Regions from separate parts of the Homo sapiens genome. Here all the other regions are linked to region 1. The links are contacts of gene promoters, found by promoter capture Hi-C in blood cells and fetal thymus (Javierre and others, 2016). All regions are on one chromosome and are shown on one strand. The core of a region is centred on a gene start or on the middle of the fragment in contact, and the rest is flanking DNA. Distances in the headings are between cores, read along the strand shown. Region 1 holds the start of DLL3 (delta like canonical Notch ligand 3). Region 2 overlaps ACP7 (acid phosphatase 7, tartrate resistant (putative)). Region 3 holds the start of DYRK1B (dual specificity tyrosine phosphorylation regulated kinase 1B). Region 4 has its middle 12 kb from the start of SYCN.

Evidence for each region. Contacts are between HindIII fragments. The CHiCAGO score rates a contact against its expected background, and 5 or more counts as called.
Region 2: a fragment that was not itself captured here is called in contact with the fragment with the promoter of DLL3 in region 1 in 2 of 17 cell types (naive B cells and neutrophils); the score reaches 7.0 in naive B cells.
Region 3: a contact is called between the fragment with the promoter of DYRK1B here and the fragment with the promoter of DLL3 in region 1, in 4 of 17 cell types (erythroblasts, total CD4 T cells, naive CD8 T cells and 1 more). The highest score is 6.7, in erythroblasts.
Region 4: a contact is called between a fragment that was not itself captured here and the fragment with the promoter of DLL3 in region 1, in 1 of 17 cell types (neutrophils). The highest score is 6.1, in neutrophils.

The regions. Positions count from the first base shown.
Region 1 is chr19:39,497,384-39,500,745 of GRCh38, reverse strand. DLL3 (delta like canonical Notch ligand 3) reads right to left here and starts at 1,799. Exons shown (of 9, transcript NM_203486.3): 1 at 1,703-1,799; 2 at 1,273-1,554; 3 at 74-131. The coding sequence starts at 1,771. RefSeq lists a silencer at 2,420-2,479 and an enhancer at 2,103-3,095. The HindIII fragment of the contact is 3,955 bases long and covers 707-3,362 here.
Region 2 is chr19:39,107,123-39,110,484 of GRCh38, reverse strand. It overlaps ACP7 (acid phosphatase 7, tartrate resistant (putative)), which reads right to left. Exons shown (of 13, transcript NM_001004318.3): 13 at 1-432. The coding sequence ends at 367. Among named protein-coding and RNA genes, the nearest start is that of PAK4, 17 kb to the left of the region's middle. RefSeq lists an enhancer at 1-51. The HindIII fragment of the contact is 5,363 bases long and covers 1-3,362 here.
Region 3 is chr19:39,832,363-39,835,724 of GRCh38, reverse strand. It overlaps DYRK1B (dual specificity tyrosine phosphorylation regulated kinase 1B), which reads left to right and starts at 1,563. Exons shown (of 11, transcript NM_004714.3): 1 at 1,563-1,702. FBL (fibrillarin) reads left to right here. Exons shown (of 9, transcript NM_001436.4): 8 at 912-1,057; 9 at 1,163-1,267. The coding sequence ends at 1,187. RefSeq lists silencers at 1,751-1,860, 2,121-2,390. The HindIII fragment of the contact is 24,958 bases long and covers 1-3,362 here.
Region 4 is chr19:39,214,147-39,217,508 of GRCh38, reverse strand. No RefSeq gene overlaps it. Among named protein-coding and RNA genes, the nearest start is that of SYCN, 12 kb to the right of the region's middle. The HindIII fragment of the contact is 6,255 bases long and covers 1-3,362 here.

The DNA.
Region 1 (3,362 bases), core at 550-3,049:
TAGATAACACCACCAACCCCGTGTCTCACGTGGGCCCCAGCTCCCCACCAGTCCCAAGACTGAAGACACTCACCTCCAATCTGGTCTCCTAACTCCTCTCTCCAGGTTTCGATGATGAAAGAGAAGGTGCCCTGGTTGGGTGAAGGAAGGGGGAGATGAAAGATGAAAGACAGTGGTTAGGGTAAGTACTCAATGAAGGCCAGAGTTCAGGAATGGAGGGTGATGGCCATTGCTGGGGACTGAGCAAGCAAGGGACAATTCCCAGAGGGACCAGACCAGCCCAGGGAGGGAATGACATCTGTGGCTTTTTTTTGGGGGGGGGGGGAGAATCTCACTTTGTCAACCAGGCTGGAGTGCACTGGCGCAATCTTGGCTCACTGCAACAACCTCCGAGGCTCAAGCAATCCTCCCACCTCAGCCTCCCCAGTAGCTGGGACTACACGCGCATGTCACCATGCCCTGCTATGTTTTTTTTTTTTTTTTAGAAACGAGGTCTCACTATGTTACTGAGACTGGTCTCAAACTGCCGGGCTCAGGAGATCCTCCTGCCTAGACCTCCCAAAGTGCTGGAATTACAGTGTGAGCGACTGGACGTGGCTTGCTTTATTGAGCACTTACTACGTGGTAAGCACTTTATTCAAGAGATGTGGTTGAATCGCTCAAAAGGGACCCTTGTGAGGTACCAGGATGATCCCATTTTTAAGCTTAGGAAACTGAGGCTGGAAACCAGGCAGTCACTTGTCCAAAAGGACAAGGGTCAAGCATTGCAATACAGGTCTGTTCATCTTTGTGCCTTTGGGTTGTGGGGGTGGGAGACAGGATTTTGGAGGTGAAAGAGTAATTAATACAGGACCCAACTGAAAGAACTGAGGACAGAAAAAAAAAAAAAAAGAGAGAGAAGATATTAGTGGTCCCCAAGACAAGGTGTGAGAGGTTTGGGGATAAAGATGAGGACCACAGTTTTTAGGGATCCCCAAGGAGCAGAGGTAGGGTTCCTTGAGTTTAGGATTTCAGAGCTTGGGTTTGAAATTCTGGGAATTTGGGGTCCCAGCATCCAGGGTTGGGGAATCAGAACATTTAGAATCCCCAGTGTGTAGAGTTTAGAGGTCTGTGAATGTGGGGTTCCAGACGGTAGAGTTACTGGTCTGGGAATTTCGTCCACCCCCTGGGAGGCAGGATTAGGGTCTTGGAAGCTGGAGGGGAGAGGAGGTGGAGGTTTCGCTGGCAGGGTTAGGCCTCCAGCACCGGGAGTCCCCCGGGGGCAGCACTTACAGGCCAGGCGTCCCGGAAGGGCACCTGCAAGAGGCCGTCGGGCAGTGGGAGATCAGGCGCGGGCGCTCCGGGCTGCTCGGTGTAGACCGGTCCGCGCGCACTCAGCGCCGCGCCCAGGGCGCACGGGGACTCGGCGGCCTCCTCTGAGAGCCCAGGCTTCAGGCAGACTCTGAAGAAGAGGCGGCAGGGGAGCCGGGCGCTGCAGGGGGACCGCGGGGCCCCAGGGCCTGGACCCGGCCCGAAAGAGTGGATCTGCAGCTCGAAGACGCCAGCGGGCCGTGTCTGGGACGGAGACGGGCGCAGGGTGAGGCGGCCGGGAGGACCCAGGCTTCCCGTCCGCCCCACGCTCCTTCCCCAGGACCTTCAGGTCGCACTCACCCCTCCCCTCCGCATTCATCCCTTTCCACGCCACCTCCCACCTGGCTCTGACCTGGGGGAGGAAAATGAGCGCTAGGATCACAGTCTGGGAGAGGAGCCCGGACATCCGTGGGGAGACCATGGCCTTCTGGTGGGGGGGTCTCGGGAGTCGCAGCTGCTGGCTTCCAAGCCTTATATCTGAGAGAATGGCCCCGCCCCTTCAGGCAGCTACCCGGCCCCAAGGGACCAAGGGCGGGGCGGGGGGGGCGGTCACAGGGGAGGGGGAGCGTGCAGGAGCAACAGCGAGATTCCGTCTGTGGTCGTGGGCACGAGCGAGGTCATGCGTGGGTGATCCCGCGACTTTTTGTGTGGCTAGGGTGGGGTGGGGTTAGGGGGCTAAGCCTGTGTGTGAGGTTGTACATGATTTTAAGATTTTGTGTGTGTGGTATGAACCAGAGCTACCGGAGGGTGCACATGACTTTGTCATTGTGAGTCCACGTGGGACTGTGCGGCTCAGCATACGCCTGGAGTTGTGTGTGATTGACACATTTATGAGGTTGTAAACAATTCTGATTCTGCACGCACACCCGAGTGGGACACTAGAAGTGTACACGACTTCGTGATTGTGTGACGCTTTGAGATTGTGTGGCTGTGTGGCTGCTTCTCTGTGCGTGTGTGTTTATGGGAGATCCTGTATAGGCGTATAAACCTGTGACTTTGTGCTCTGTGCGGGTGTGGTAGAGGCTGTGCAAGGTGGTGAATGGCTGAGGGCGCCTGTGTGTGAATGAGACTGGGTTTGAGAGGTCCACGGATGCAGCCGCGTGTGAATACGATGAAGATCCGGAGTTCTTTGTAGACCCCTGTGTGCGCTGGTTTGTGTGAATGAGACTGGGTTTGGGAGATCCACGGGTGTAGCTGTGTGTGGATACGATGAAGATCCAGGGCTCTTTGTGGACCCCTGTGTGCAGGCGTGTGTGTGTTCCCCCTCCGCAAGACAAAGCCACCCTCCCAAACCCCGCATCGCGGACGCACCAGACGCCAGGGCGAGGAGCTCGGCCTCAAGAGGGGGCTCCCAGCTGTATGTAAATGCCGCCATCTGCCGGGCGGCCGAGCCCCTCCCCCTTCGGGCCGCAGCTGGGCTGCCCGTTTGGCCTCCGGAAGGTGTGAGGAGCAAATGGGCAGGAAATTCCGTCTTCACATACAGGGACCCGCTCCCCCACCCCAGAAGAACTGGGGGGGGGGACATCCCGGGCCCTTCAGAAACCCTTTAGTATTCCAGGACCTCAGCAGGAAAAGCCAATTAGGAGCAGATGTCCCAGCCCCTCTGGTCATAATTGCTCCCTGCCAGGCATGGGGCAAAACCCTTGAGCTGGGGTAACTTCTTTTTTTTCCCCCCCAAAGTAAAAAACTTTAGTGCTTAGAGGCTAATAATTATAGGGGAAAATACAGGTTCAATTTATATGTCTTTTTCCAGAGAAGTAAGATATAGTAACCAACGAAGCCTAGCCCAGCAGAGCCAGGCATACAGTAGGCGCTCTGTTTTTTGTTGTTGCTGTTGTTGTTTTTTTCAGAAGAAGAAGTTTTGCTCTTGTTGCCCAGGCTGGAGTGCAGTGGTGCGATCTTGGCTCACTGCAACCTCCACCTCCCGGGTTCAAGCGATTCTGCTGCCTCAGCCTCCAGAGTAGCTGGGATTACAGGCACCCACCAACACACTCGGCTAATTTTTTATATTT
Region 2 (3,362 bases), core at 353-2,852, 390 kb after region 1:
CAGCGGCATCCCCCGCAGATGTGCAGAATCCATGGAGCCAGAGCTTAAGCCTCTTCATTCCTGAAGCCCCGTGGGCACCTCGCCCGATCAGAGCTATGCAGGAGGGTGGGGCCCTGCCAGCAGAAACCTGCCGTGTGTCACTCTGTGCCCGCACACCTGCCCTCCCTCCACAGCCAGCCAGGACTCCCACCTCTCCAGGAGGGAACAGCTGCCCCAGCTCCATAGGGCTGCATGTACCCTACATGGGGCCTCTGGAGGGCAGGGGAGTCAGGGCCCACCCAACTCCCCACCCAGGCCTGGGCAGTTTCTGGTCACAGCAGCCAAGGCGGCAAAACCTAGGCTTCTGGAGGAGAGCTGCCGCCATCCCTAGAGGTACATCCTCCGGCCAAACAGGGGTCTCACCACCCAGACATCATCTACGATCTTCCCATCCTGTGAGGGACAAAAACAGGGACAGTAGTTAGAGCTGAAAGCCTGAACTCTGGGGCCACATGGCCTGGGTTCCAGTCCCCTCTCTGCCCTCTGATGGGCTGTACAACCCTGAGCAAGTGGCTAGGCCTCTCTGGGCCTCAGTTTTCCTCATCTGAAAAGTGATAGGAAGAGTAACAGTACCCACATCATAGATGTTGTGGGAGTTAAATGAGATAGTATTTGTAAACAGAGCCCAGCATATGGAAAGGGCTATGTAAGTGTAGGCTATTATTAGAGCACAAACTCTGGAGTCAGACAGACCTTGCTTTATATTCCAGCACATCCACTCTTTCTCTCTCTCTCCTTTTTTTTTTTTTTTTTTTTTTTTAGACAGAGTCTTGCTCTGTCACCCAGGCTGGAGTGCAGTGGCAACCTCCGCTTCCCAGGTTCAAGCCATTCTCCTGCCCCAGCCTCCCAAGTAGCTGGGATTACAGGCATGCACCACCATGCCTGGCTAATTTTTGTATTTTTACTAGAGACAAGGTTTCACCATGTTGGCCAGGCTGGTCTCGAACTCCTGACCTCAAGTGATCCGCCTGCCTCAGCCTCCCAAAGGCATGAGCTGCTGCACCTGGCCAGCGCATCCACCCTCTAGGTGGCCTTAAGCATGTTGCTGGACTCTCTGAGCAAAACTTCCATGTTCTATGCAATGCACAAAGTAATAGATGCCCAGAGTCATCATGAGAACAGAGTGAGATCATGCACACAAAAGTCTGCGCCCGGTGCATGTGCCACTCGATAAATGGTAGCTATCAGATCCCAGCTTGGCCGTCCTCCAACTGTGTGACCCTGGGAAAATTACTTCCCCTCTCTGAGCCTCAGTTCCCTCACCTATAAAATGGAGAGGAAATCCACTCCTGTGGGATTGTTTTGGTGTATAAAGTGCTACTGGGGCCGCATGCGGTGGCTCATGCCTGTAATCCCAGCACTTTGGGAGGCCCAGGTGGGTGGATCACCTGAGGTCAGGAGTTCAAGACCAGCCTGGCTAACATGGTGAAACCCCATCTCTACTAAAAATACAAAAAATTAGCCGGGTGTGGTGGCATGTGCCTGTAATCCCAGCTACTCGGGAGGCTGAGGCAGGAGAATTGCTTGAACCTGGGAGGTGGAGGTTGCAGTGAGCTTAGATTGCACCACTGCACTCTAGCCTGGGCGACAGGGTGAAACTCTGTCTCAAAAACAAATAAATAAATAAAGTGCTACTAAATGCAGAGCATCTAGGCAGTGCCTGGTATGCAGTAGGTGCTCAATAAATCATAAATATTGTCATTATTTTAAAACTACAATGGCAAAAATAAAGAAAGGTGAGCCATTATTATTTGGATCCACCTAACCTTAAGCCACCTGTACCACATACTCATCTTATTGTTTTCCCCTACCTGTGTCCCACCCCCCATCTTTATCTTCCCCTGCCTCACAATGGTAAATACCTACAGAATTTACCAAGTTCCGCACTCTTCTAAGCATTTTATATATAATAAGTCCTTCAACCCCCATGTAGTCCTGTGAGGTGGAAACTATGATTATCCCCTCTCACAGATGGGAAAACTGAGGCAAAGAAGTTAGATAAGTGGGCCCAGCACAGTGGCTCACACCTGTAATCCCAGCACTTTGGGAGGTTGAGGCAGGCAGATCACCTGATGTCAGGAGTTCGAGACCATTCTGGCCAACACAGTGAAACCCTGTCTCTACTAAAAATACAAAAAATTAGCCGGGTGTGGTGGTGGGCGCCTGTGATCCCAGCTACTCGGGAGGCTGAGGTAGGAGAATTGCCTGAACCTGGGAGGTGGCGGTTGCAGTAAACCAAGACTGCACCACTGCATTCCAGCCTGGGTGACAGAGCGAGACTCCATCTCAAAAAAAAAAAAAAAAAATTAGATGAGTGACTCAAGGTCACTCAGCTGGTAAGCAGCAGGAGCAGGTTTCTAGTTCTACAGTCCACATTTGTTCGTTTTTTTGTTTTGAGTTAGGGTCTCACTCTGTTGCCAAGGCTGGAGTACAGAGGCGAGATCATAGCTCACTGCAAACTCTAACTCCTGCACTCAAGTGATCCTCCTGCCTCAGCCTCCCAAGTAGCTGGGACTACAGACATCTGCCACCACACTTGACTAATTTTCCTTTTTTTTCCAAGACAGAGTCTCACTCTGTCTCCCAGGCTGGAGGGCAGTGGTGCCATCTTGGGTCACTGCAAACTTCACCTCCCAGATTTAAGTGATTCTCCTGCCTCAACCTCCCTTGTAGCTGGGATTACAGGCACCCGCCACCATGGCCAGCTCATTTTTGTATTTTTAGTAGAGACGGGGTTTCACCATGTTGGCCAGGCTGGTCTCTAACTCCTGACTTCAAGTGATCTGCCCACCTCAGCCTCCCAAAGTGCTGGGATTTCAGGTATGAACCACCGCACCTGGCCTAATTTTTTTTTTTTTTTTTTTTTTGAGACAGAGTCTTGCTCAGTCGCCCAGGCTGGAGTGGTGCGATCTCGGCTCACTGCAAGCTCTGCCTCCCGGGTTCACGCCATTCTCCTGCCTCAGCCTCCCGAGTAGCTGGGACTATAGGCACCTGCCACCACGCCTGGCTAATTTTTTTTGTATTTTTAGTAGAGAAGGGGTTTCACCATGTTAGCCAGGATGGTCTCGATCTCCTGACCTTGTGATCCGCCTGCCTCGGCTTCCCAAAGTGCTGGAATTACAGGCATGAGCCACCGTGCCTGGCCATTTTTTGTATTTTTTGTAGAGACTAGGTCTCACCATGGTACCCAGGCTGGTCTTGAACTCCTGGACTCAAGCGATCCTCATACCTTAGCCCCACCAAATTGCAGGTGTTGCAGGCATGAGCCACTGCGCCCGGCCGAGCCCACGTTTTTAACAGCTCATTTGCTTGGAGGGGCCTGG
Region 3 (3,362 bases), core at 314-2,813, 340 kb before region 1:
GGAGCTCCTGAGCTCAGGCAATCTGCCTGTCTCAGGCTCCCAAAGTGCTAGGATTACAGGCACGAGCCACTGCACCCAGCCAAAAACTTTCATTAAGCCTTTTATCACATTTCCTAAACCCGAGTGTCTTAGCCCATTTTATGCAGCTATCACAGAATGCTATAGACTGGGTAATTTATTTATTTTTATTTTTATTTTTATTTTTTTGAGATGGAGTCTTACTCTGTCACCAGGTTGGAGTGCAGTGGTACGATCTCGGCTCACTGCAACCTCCAGTTCCTGGGTTCAAGCGATTCTCCTGCGTCAGCTTCCCGAGTAGGTGGGACTACAGGTGTGCGCCACCACACCCGACTAATTTTTGTATTTTTAGTAGAGATAGGGTTTCACCGTGTTGGCCAGGATGGTCTCAATCTCCTGATTTCGTGATTGAGCCACCTCGGCCTCCCAAAGTGCTGGGATTACAGGCGTGAGCCACCACGCCCAGCCTTAGACTGGGTAATTTATAATGAATGGAAATTTATTTGGCTCCCAGTTCCAAAGGCTGGAAAGTCCAAGATTGGAGGTCTGAATCTGGCGAGGGCCTTCTTGCTGTCATCCATTGGCAGAAGGGTGAGAGCAAGATAGAAAGGGGGCATAATCATCCTTTTAATCAGCAACCCACTCTTGTGATAATAGCATTACTCTATTCAGGAAGGCAGAGGCCTCATGACCTGAATCATCTCTCGAAGGTCCCACCTCTCAACTCTTGCATTTAAGGGTTACGTTTCCAACACATGAACTTTGGGGGACACACTAGAACCATAGCACTGAGTTTTACTTGAATTAATAATGAAAACATCTGGTTTAAAGAGCACACAAGAGAAAAACAGCCCAAAGCCCTGTTGTAGACATTAGTCCTTTCTCCTCTTTAGGCCAACTGCATTGACTCCACAGCCTCAGCCGAGGCCGTGTTTGCCTCCGAAGTGAAAAAGATGCAACAGGAGAACATGAAGCCGCAGGAGCAGTTGACCCTTGAGCCATATGAAAGAGACCATGCCGTGGTCGTGGGAGTGTACAGGTGAGCAGGGGCCCAGCAATACACCAAGACAGACATCTCTGTCCCTTGCACCCCGAGTGCCATGATCCTGGGGACCCTCCTTCATCACCTATCTTCCTCTCACAGGCCACCCCCCAAGGTGAAGAACTGAAGTTCAGCGCTGTCAGGATTGCGAGAGATGTGTGTTGATACTGTTGCACGTGTGTTTTTCTATTAAAAGACTCATCCGTCTCCCATGTCTGCTGCTCATTCCTCCCCTTGACCTGCTGACACAGGGAGCACGCACCCTTGGTCAATTTTGCGGGGTTGGGTAAATTCTCACTCGGTCACAGAGCGCATGCTCCGTTTCTAGCTGCCTTTGCGCAGCGGCAGCCTGGATTTCGGTTCTTGGGTGGGATTGGTAGCTCGCTGCGCATGCGTGCAGGTAAGCGGCCATCTCGCGCAGGCGGAGTGTCAGTGTGGGTCACGTGAGGGGAGCGGAGAGGGAGGGATGGGGGCGGAGTCCAGGGCGTGGGGGGGCCGGTTTGTTGTGGTCGCCATTTTGCTGGTTGCATTACTGGGTAATCGGGGCCCTGGCTTGCCGCGTCCGCCGGATACCCTCAGCCAGTGGGCAGGTCTGAGCTCGGGCTCCCCGAGCAGTTTGAGTCCCCTTGCCCGCTCCTTCAGGTAACGGCGCGGGGACGGGTGGGGCGGCAAGCGGTCGCAGGGAGGTGGGCAGGACGGGATCCGCCCTGCTCCCGTCGCCGTGAGACTTAGCACGAGGCCAAGGGAGGAGAGGAGGGGGGTGGCAGGCAGGTGCGGGCCCTGCCTGGCTATTCATAGTTGAATTCCTGGAACCGGCCAAGCCCGAGGAAGCAGTTGCAGGAGGGAGGCTGGGAGGGGGTAGCCGGGCCCCACTCCCGCCCTTTGTTTGGGCTCAGCTCCGCGGGCCGCTTCTTCGTCGCCTAGCAACAGCTGCCCTAGGCTGTGATTGGCTGAGCTCTTGGCACCAGCGACCAATGGTACAGTTGTTGCCATGGCAGGTGCCGATTGCCAAGCTCAGTCGGGCCCCGCCTTCCGGTCTCAGCAGGCCCAGGAGGGCCTCCTGGGTGGGGGGCGGGACGCCGGGTCCCTAGGGGCTGGTGGTCACTCAGGGTGGGGCGTGTCGCCCCTCCCCCGTCCACCTGCTCTACTCTTCCCCCGCGTGCCCTGGGCTGACCCTTGTCCCCTCCTCTCCCCGCCCCCGGTGGCAGTGGCGGCTGCTGTTGTCACCCACCGGGCCTCCTGTCCCGCTTGCCCTCCCCGCCGCGGGGCCGGCCGGGCCAGAGACAGGCGGTCGCCTTTTCAGCGCCGCCACCGCCGCCATGCTGGCCGCTCGCCCACCCCACTGGGGGCCCCACCGCGCCCCAGCCCCCCGTGGGCCCCGCGCCAGCCCTGACCCGGGTAGGGGGTGGGGGCTGGGAGAGATGATCCTGGTGTGGGAGGGCCCCGGAGAAGAGGTGGTTTTTTGGGGGAAGCTCCAAGGGTGGAGGAGTCGTGGAGTGGCAAGGCATGGAATAGGAGAAAGGGATTTGACATGGGGGAGAGAGTGGCCCATGGGGAGAAGATTTTTGCTGTAGCTGACAACTCTGGGAGGAGAGAACCCTATGTGATAACTTGGGGATTTGACTTTGAGGCCCTCTAGGAGTGGACACAGTTGTGGAATGACCCTGGTATAAAGAGGGGTGCCTGGAGAAAGGTCTGTGGTAGGAATATTAGGGTGTGTGTGTGTGTGTAGGGGGGCAAGGAAGCAGTGTAGGGGAGAAAAGGATGATCACTCTAAACTGTGGGAAGAGACACCTCCTCCTTCTCCCATCAGGAGGAGTGGGCCTTGATTGGGATGGGATATTGGAGTAATATGGGGAAGAACCCTGTTGTGGTAGGGGGAATTGGGATATGGTACAGGGAGACTACCTGGAAGGCTGGTTCCTAATATGGAGGACCTGAAATAGGGAAGCGGTCTTGGCATGATATGGAGAGGGTCCCCTAGGAAAATCGTGCCCTGGTGGATGAGAATGCTGTAGAGATAGGACTCTGTTCTATAGAGGTTCTCAGATAACTTTGGTGTGGTTGGGAGGTCCCCAAGGACGCTGATGTGGTTTTAGGGCTGCAGAGGACTCTGCTGTGGTTTGGGAGGGGAAGACTCATGTGGTTTGGGAATCCTAGAGTTCTCTGGGTTGAGGGAATCTACTGAGAAGGATAGATCTTAAAGTATTGGCCCTGGCTGTGCTACGGGCTGAGATCCTGATGTTCAGGGAAGACTACAGAAAGTGGCATCTTGTGTTAGGGGCCCTGGGGAGGGCCACGA
Region 4 (3,362 bases), core at 488-2,987, 280 kb after region 1:
TTTCAGCTTCCAGTGTTGGCCTGCGTTCCTTGGCTCGTGGCCTCCTCCATCTTCAAATAACATCTCTCCAACCTCTGCTTCCATCCTCACCTTGCCTCCTCCTCTGTAGCCAAATCTTCCTCTGCCTCCCTCTTCTAGGGAGCCTAGTGATTCCATTTAGGGTCCACCCAGATCTTCCAGGACAACCTCTGATTGAACGATCCTGAACTCAATCACGTCTGTGAAGTTTCTTTTGCCAAATAAGGTCACCCACAGGTTCCGGGATATCTTGAAAGCCATTATCAGTGACCACACCCCCCTTCTTTCTACTGTACCCAGATTGTAGAAAGGCTGGATTCCACTTTTTCCTGGACATCTATGTCCTCTCTGACTCTGTCATCCCTTCAATGTGCTTCTTATTCCTTCAATCTGTGACATGGCCTCAATATCTGTTCTTCCTTCAGTAATAGGAAATTTGATTTGTGACCAGGCATACAGCTAACCCAAGGCCAGATCTTTTTTTTTTTTTTTTTTTTTTTTGAGATGGAGTCTCGCACTGTCGCCCGGGCTAGAGTGCAGTGGTGCGATCTCAGCTCACTGCAACCTCTGCCTCCTGGGTTCAAACAATTCTTCTGCCTCAGCCTCCTGAGTAGCTGGGATTACAGGCACCTGCCACCATGCCCAGCTAATTTTTTGTATTTTTAGTAGAGATGGGGTTTCACCACTTTGGCCAGGCTGGTCTTGAACTCCTAACCTCGTAATCCGCCTGCCTCGGCCTCCCAAAGTGCTGGGATTACAGGTGTGAGCCACTGCGCCTGGCCTAGATCCATCTTTTTGAGGCATTGAGTGCCCATCTCTAGCTAAGTTCTGGCAGCAAGATGTAGACAGGAGTGTCATGTACCATGCTCCTGGAAGAGCATTTCCTTCTTCTTCCCTCCCTCCCTTCCTCCACATGTTGACTGGGATGTAGATGGGAAGGATGGAGCTCAAGCAGCCATATTGGGCCACAAGAAAAAGCCACATTTGATGCTGGAGCAACAAGACAGAAGGAGCCTGGGCCCTGACACTGGAGCCCCAGACAGCCTTGGTAGCTGTCTCCCTTCATATGAAAGACAAGAATACTCCTCATTTGTAAAACAAAATACTAATTTTTGGGCAGAATAACAGCCCCCCGAGGTGTCCTCAGAACTAGCGAATATATTATGTTACACAGCAAGGAAGAGTTAAGGTTGCAGATGGAATTAAAGTCACTAATCATTATTTTATTTTATTTTTTTGAGACAGTCTCACTCTGTCACCCAGGTTGGAGTGCAGCGGTGTGACCTTGGCTCACTACAGCCTCTGTCTCCCGGGCTCAAGCGATTCTCATGCCTCAGCCTCCTGAGTAGCTGGGACTACAGGTGCATGCCACCACGTCCAGCTAATTTTTTGTATTCTTAGTAGAGATGGGGTTTCACCATATTGGCCAGGCTGGTCTCAAACTCCTGACCTCAAGTGATCTGCCCGCCTCGGCTTCCCAAAGTGCTGGGATTACAGGCATAAGCCACCACGCATGTCCCATTGATTTTAAAATAAGGAAATTGGGCATGGTGGCACGTGCCTGTAATCCCAGCTACTTGGGAGGCTGGCTGAGGCAGGAGAATTTCTTGAACCTGGAAGGCTGAGGTTGCAGTGAGCTGAGATCATGCCACTGCACTCCAGCCTGGGCGACAGAGCAACACTCCATCTCAAAAAAAAAGAAAAGAAAAGAAATTGACTATGCAACCAGGCTCAGTGTATCCTGGAGCTGAGTGGCTAAAAACATGGACTCTAGGCTGGGTGCGGTGGTTCATGCCTGTAGTCCCAGCACTTTGGGAGGCTGAGGCTGGAGGATCACTTGAGCCCAGGAGTTTGAGACCAGCCTGGGCAACATAGCAAGATTCTGTTTCTACAAAAATATGCAAAAATTAGCCAGGTGTGGTGGTGCATACCTGTAGTCCCGGCTACTCAGGCAGCTGAGGCAGGAGGATTGCTTGAGCCTGGGTAATCAAGACTGCAGTGAGTGGTGATCACACCACTGCCCTCCAGCCTGGGCAACAGAGTAAGACTCCGTGTCTTTAAAACAAAAAACAACAACAACAAAGGAAATTATCCTGGATTATGTGGGTAGGACCAGAGTAATTGTAAGGATCCCTTAAAGTGGAAGAGCAGGCAGCAGAAAAGGACAGAGTCATAGAGGGATTTAAAGATTCTCTGTTGCTGACTTCAACAAGGAAGGGGCCACAAGCTAAGGAATGCAAGTGGCCTCTAGAATCTGGAAAATGCAAGAAACAGGATTCTCCCCTGGAGCCTCCAGAAGGAAGGCAGCCCGATGACACCTTGATTTTAGCCAAAGGAGACTCATTTTGGACTTCCAACCTCCAGGACTGTGAGATAATGAATCTGTGTTGTTGTAAAGCACTGTTTGCAATCATTTGTTACGGCAGCAATAGGAAACTGATTCATAATTAATCCAAACTTCTTGCTTGAATCTTTCTCTGACTCTAAAGCTCCTGATTAATAAGAATAATAATAATCACACTTTGGGAAGTTGAGGCAGGTGGATCACCTAACATCAGGAGCTCGGGACCACCTTGGCCAATATAGGGAAACCCCATCTCTATTTTAAAAAATACAAAAATTAGCCAGGTGTGGTAGTGCACACCTATAATTTCAGCTACTCAGGAGGCTGAGGCAGGAGAATTGCTTGAACCCGGGAGGTGGAGGTTGCAGTGAGGTGAGATCGCGCCACCGCACTCCAGCCTGGGCAACAGAGTGTGACTCTGTCTCAAAATAAATAAATAAATTAAATAATAATCAAAACCATCATCCATGTCAGTAAACACACTGAGCACTTTCCATGTGCCTGAAATAACCTCAACCCACTATACTTTTTGCTTATGTAAGACACACAACAATCCCACAAAAAAAGTGTAAAGCCTTAAATACAAATGTGGGAAAAGGAACGAGGCTGAAAATAAGCCAGCTAACCATCTATCTTAAATGTGAGGAAAAGAACAGCACGCAAAACTCAAAGAAAAGGGCCAGGCATGGTGGCTCATGCCTGTAATCCCAGCACTTTGGGAGGCCAAGGTGGGTGGATCACTTGAAGTCAGGAGTTCAAGACCAGCCTGGGCAACATGGTGAAACCCCATCTCTACTAAAACTACAAAAAATTAGCTGGGCATGGTGGCACATGCCTGTAGTCCCAGCTACTTGGGAGGCTGAGGCAGGAGAATCCCTTGAACTTGGGAGGCGGAGGTTGCAGTGAGCTGAGATCGCACCACTGCACTCCAGCTTGGATGACAGAGCGAGACCCCGTTTCAAAAACAAACAAACAAACAAACAAACAAAAAACTCAAAGG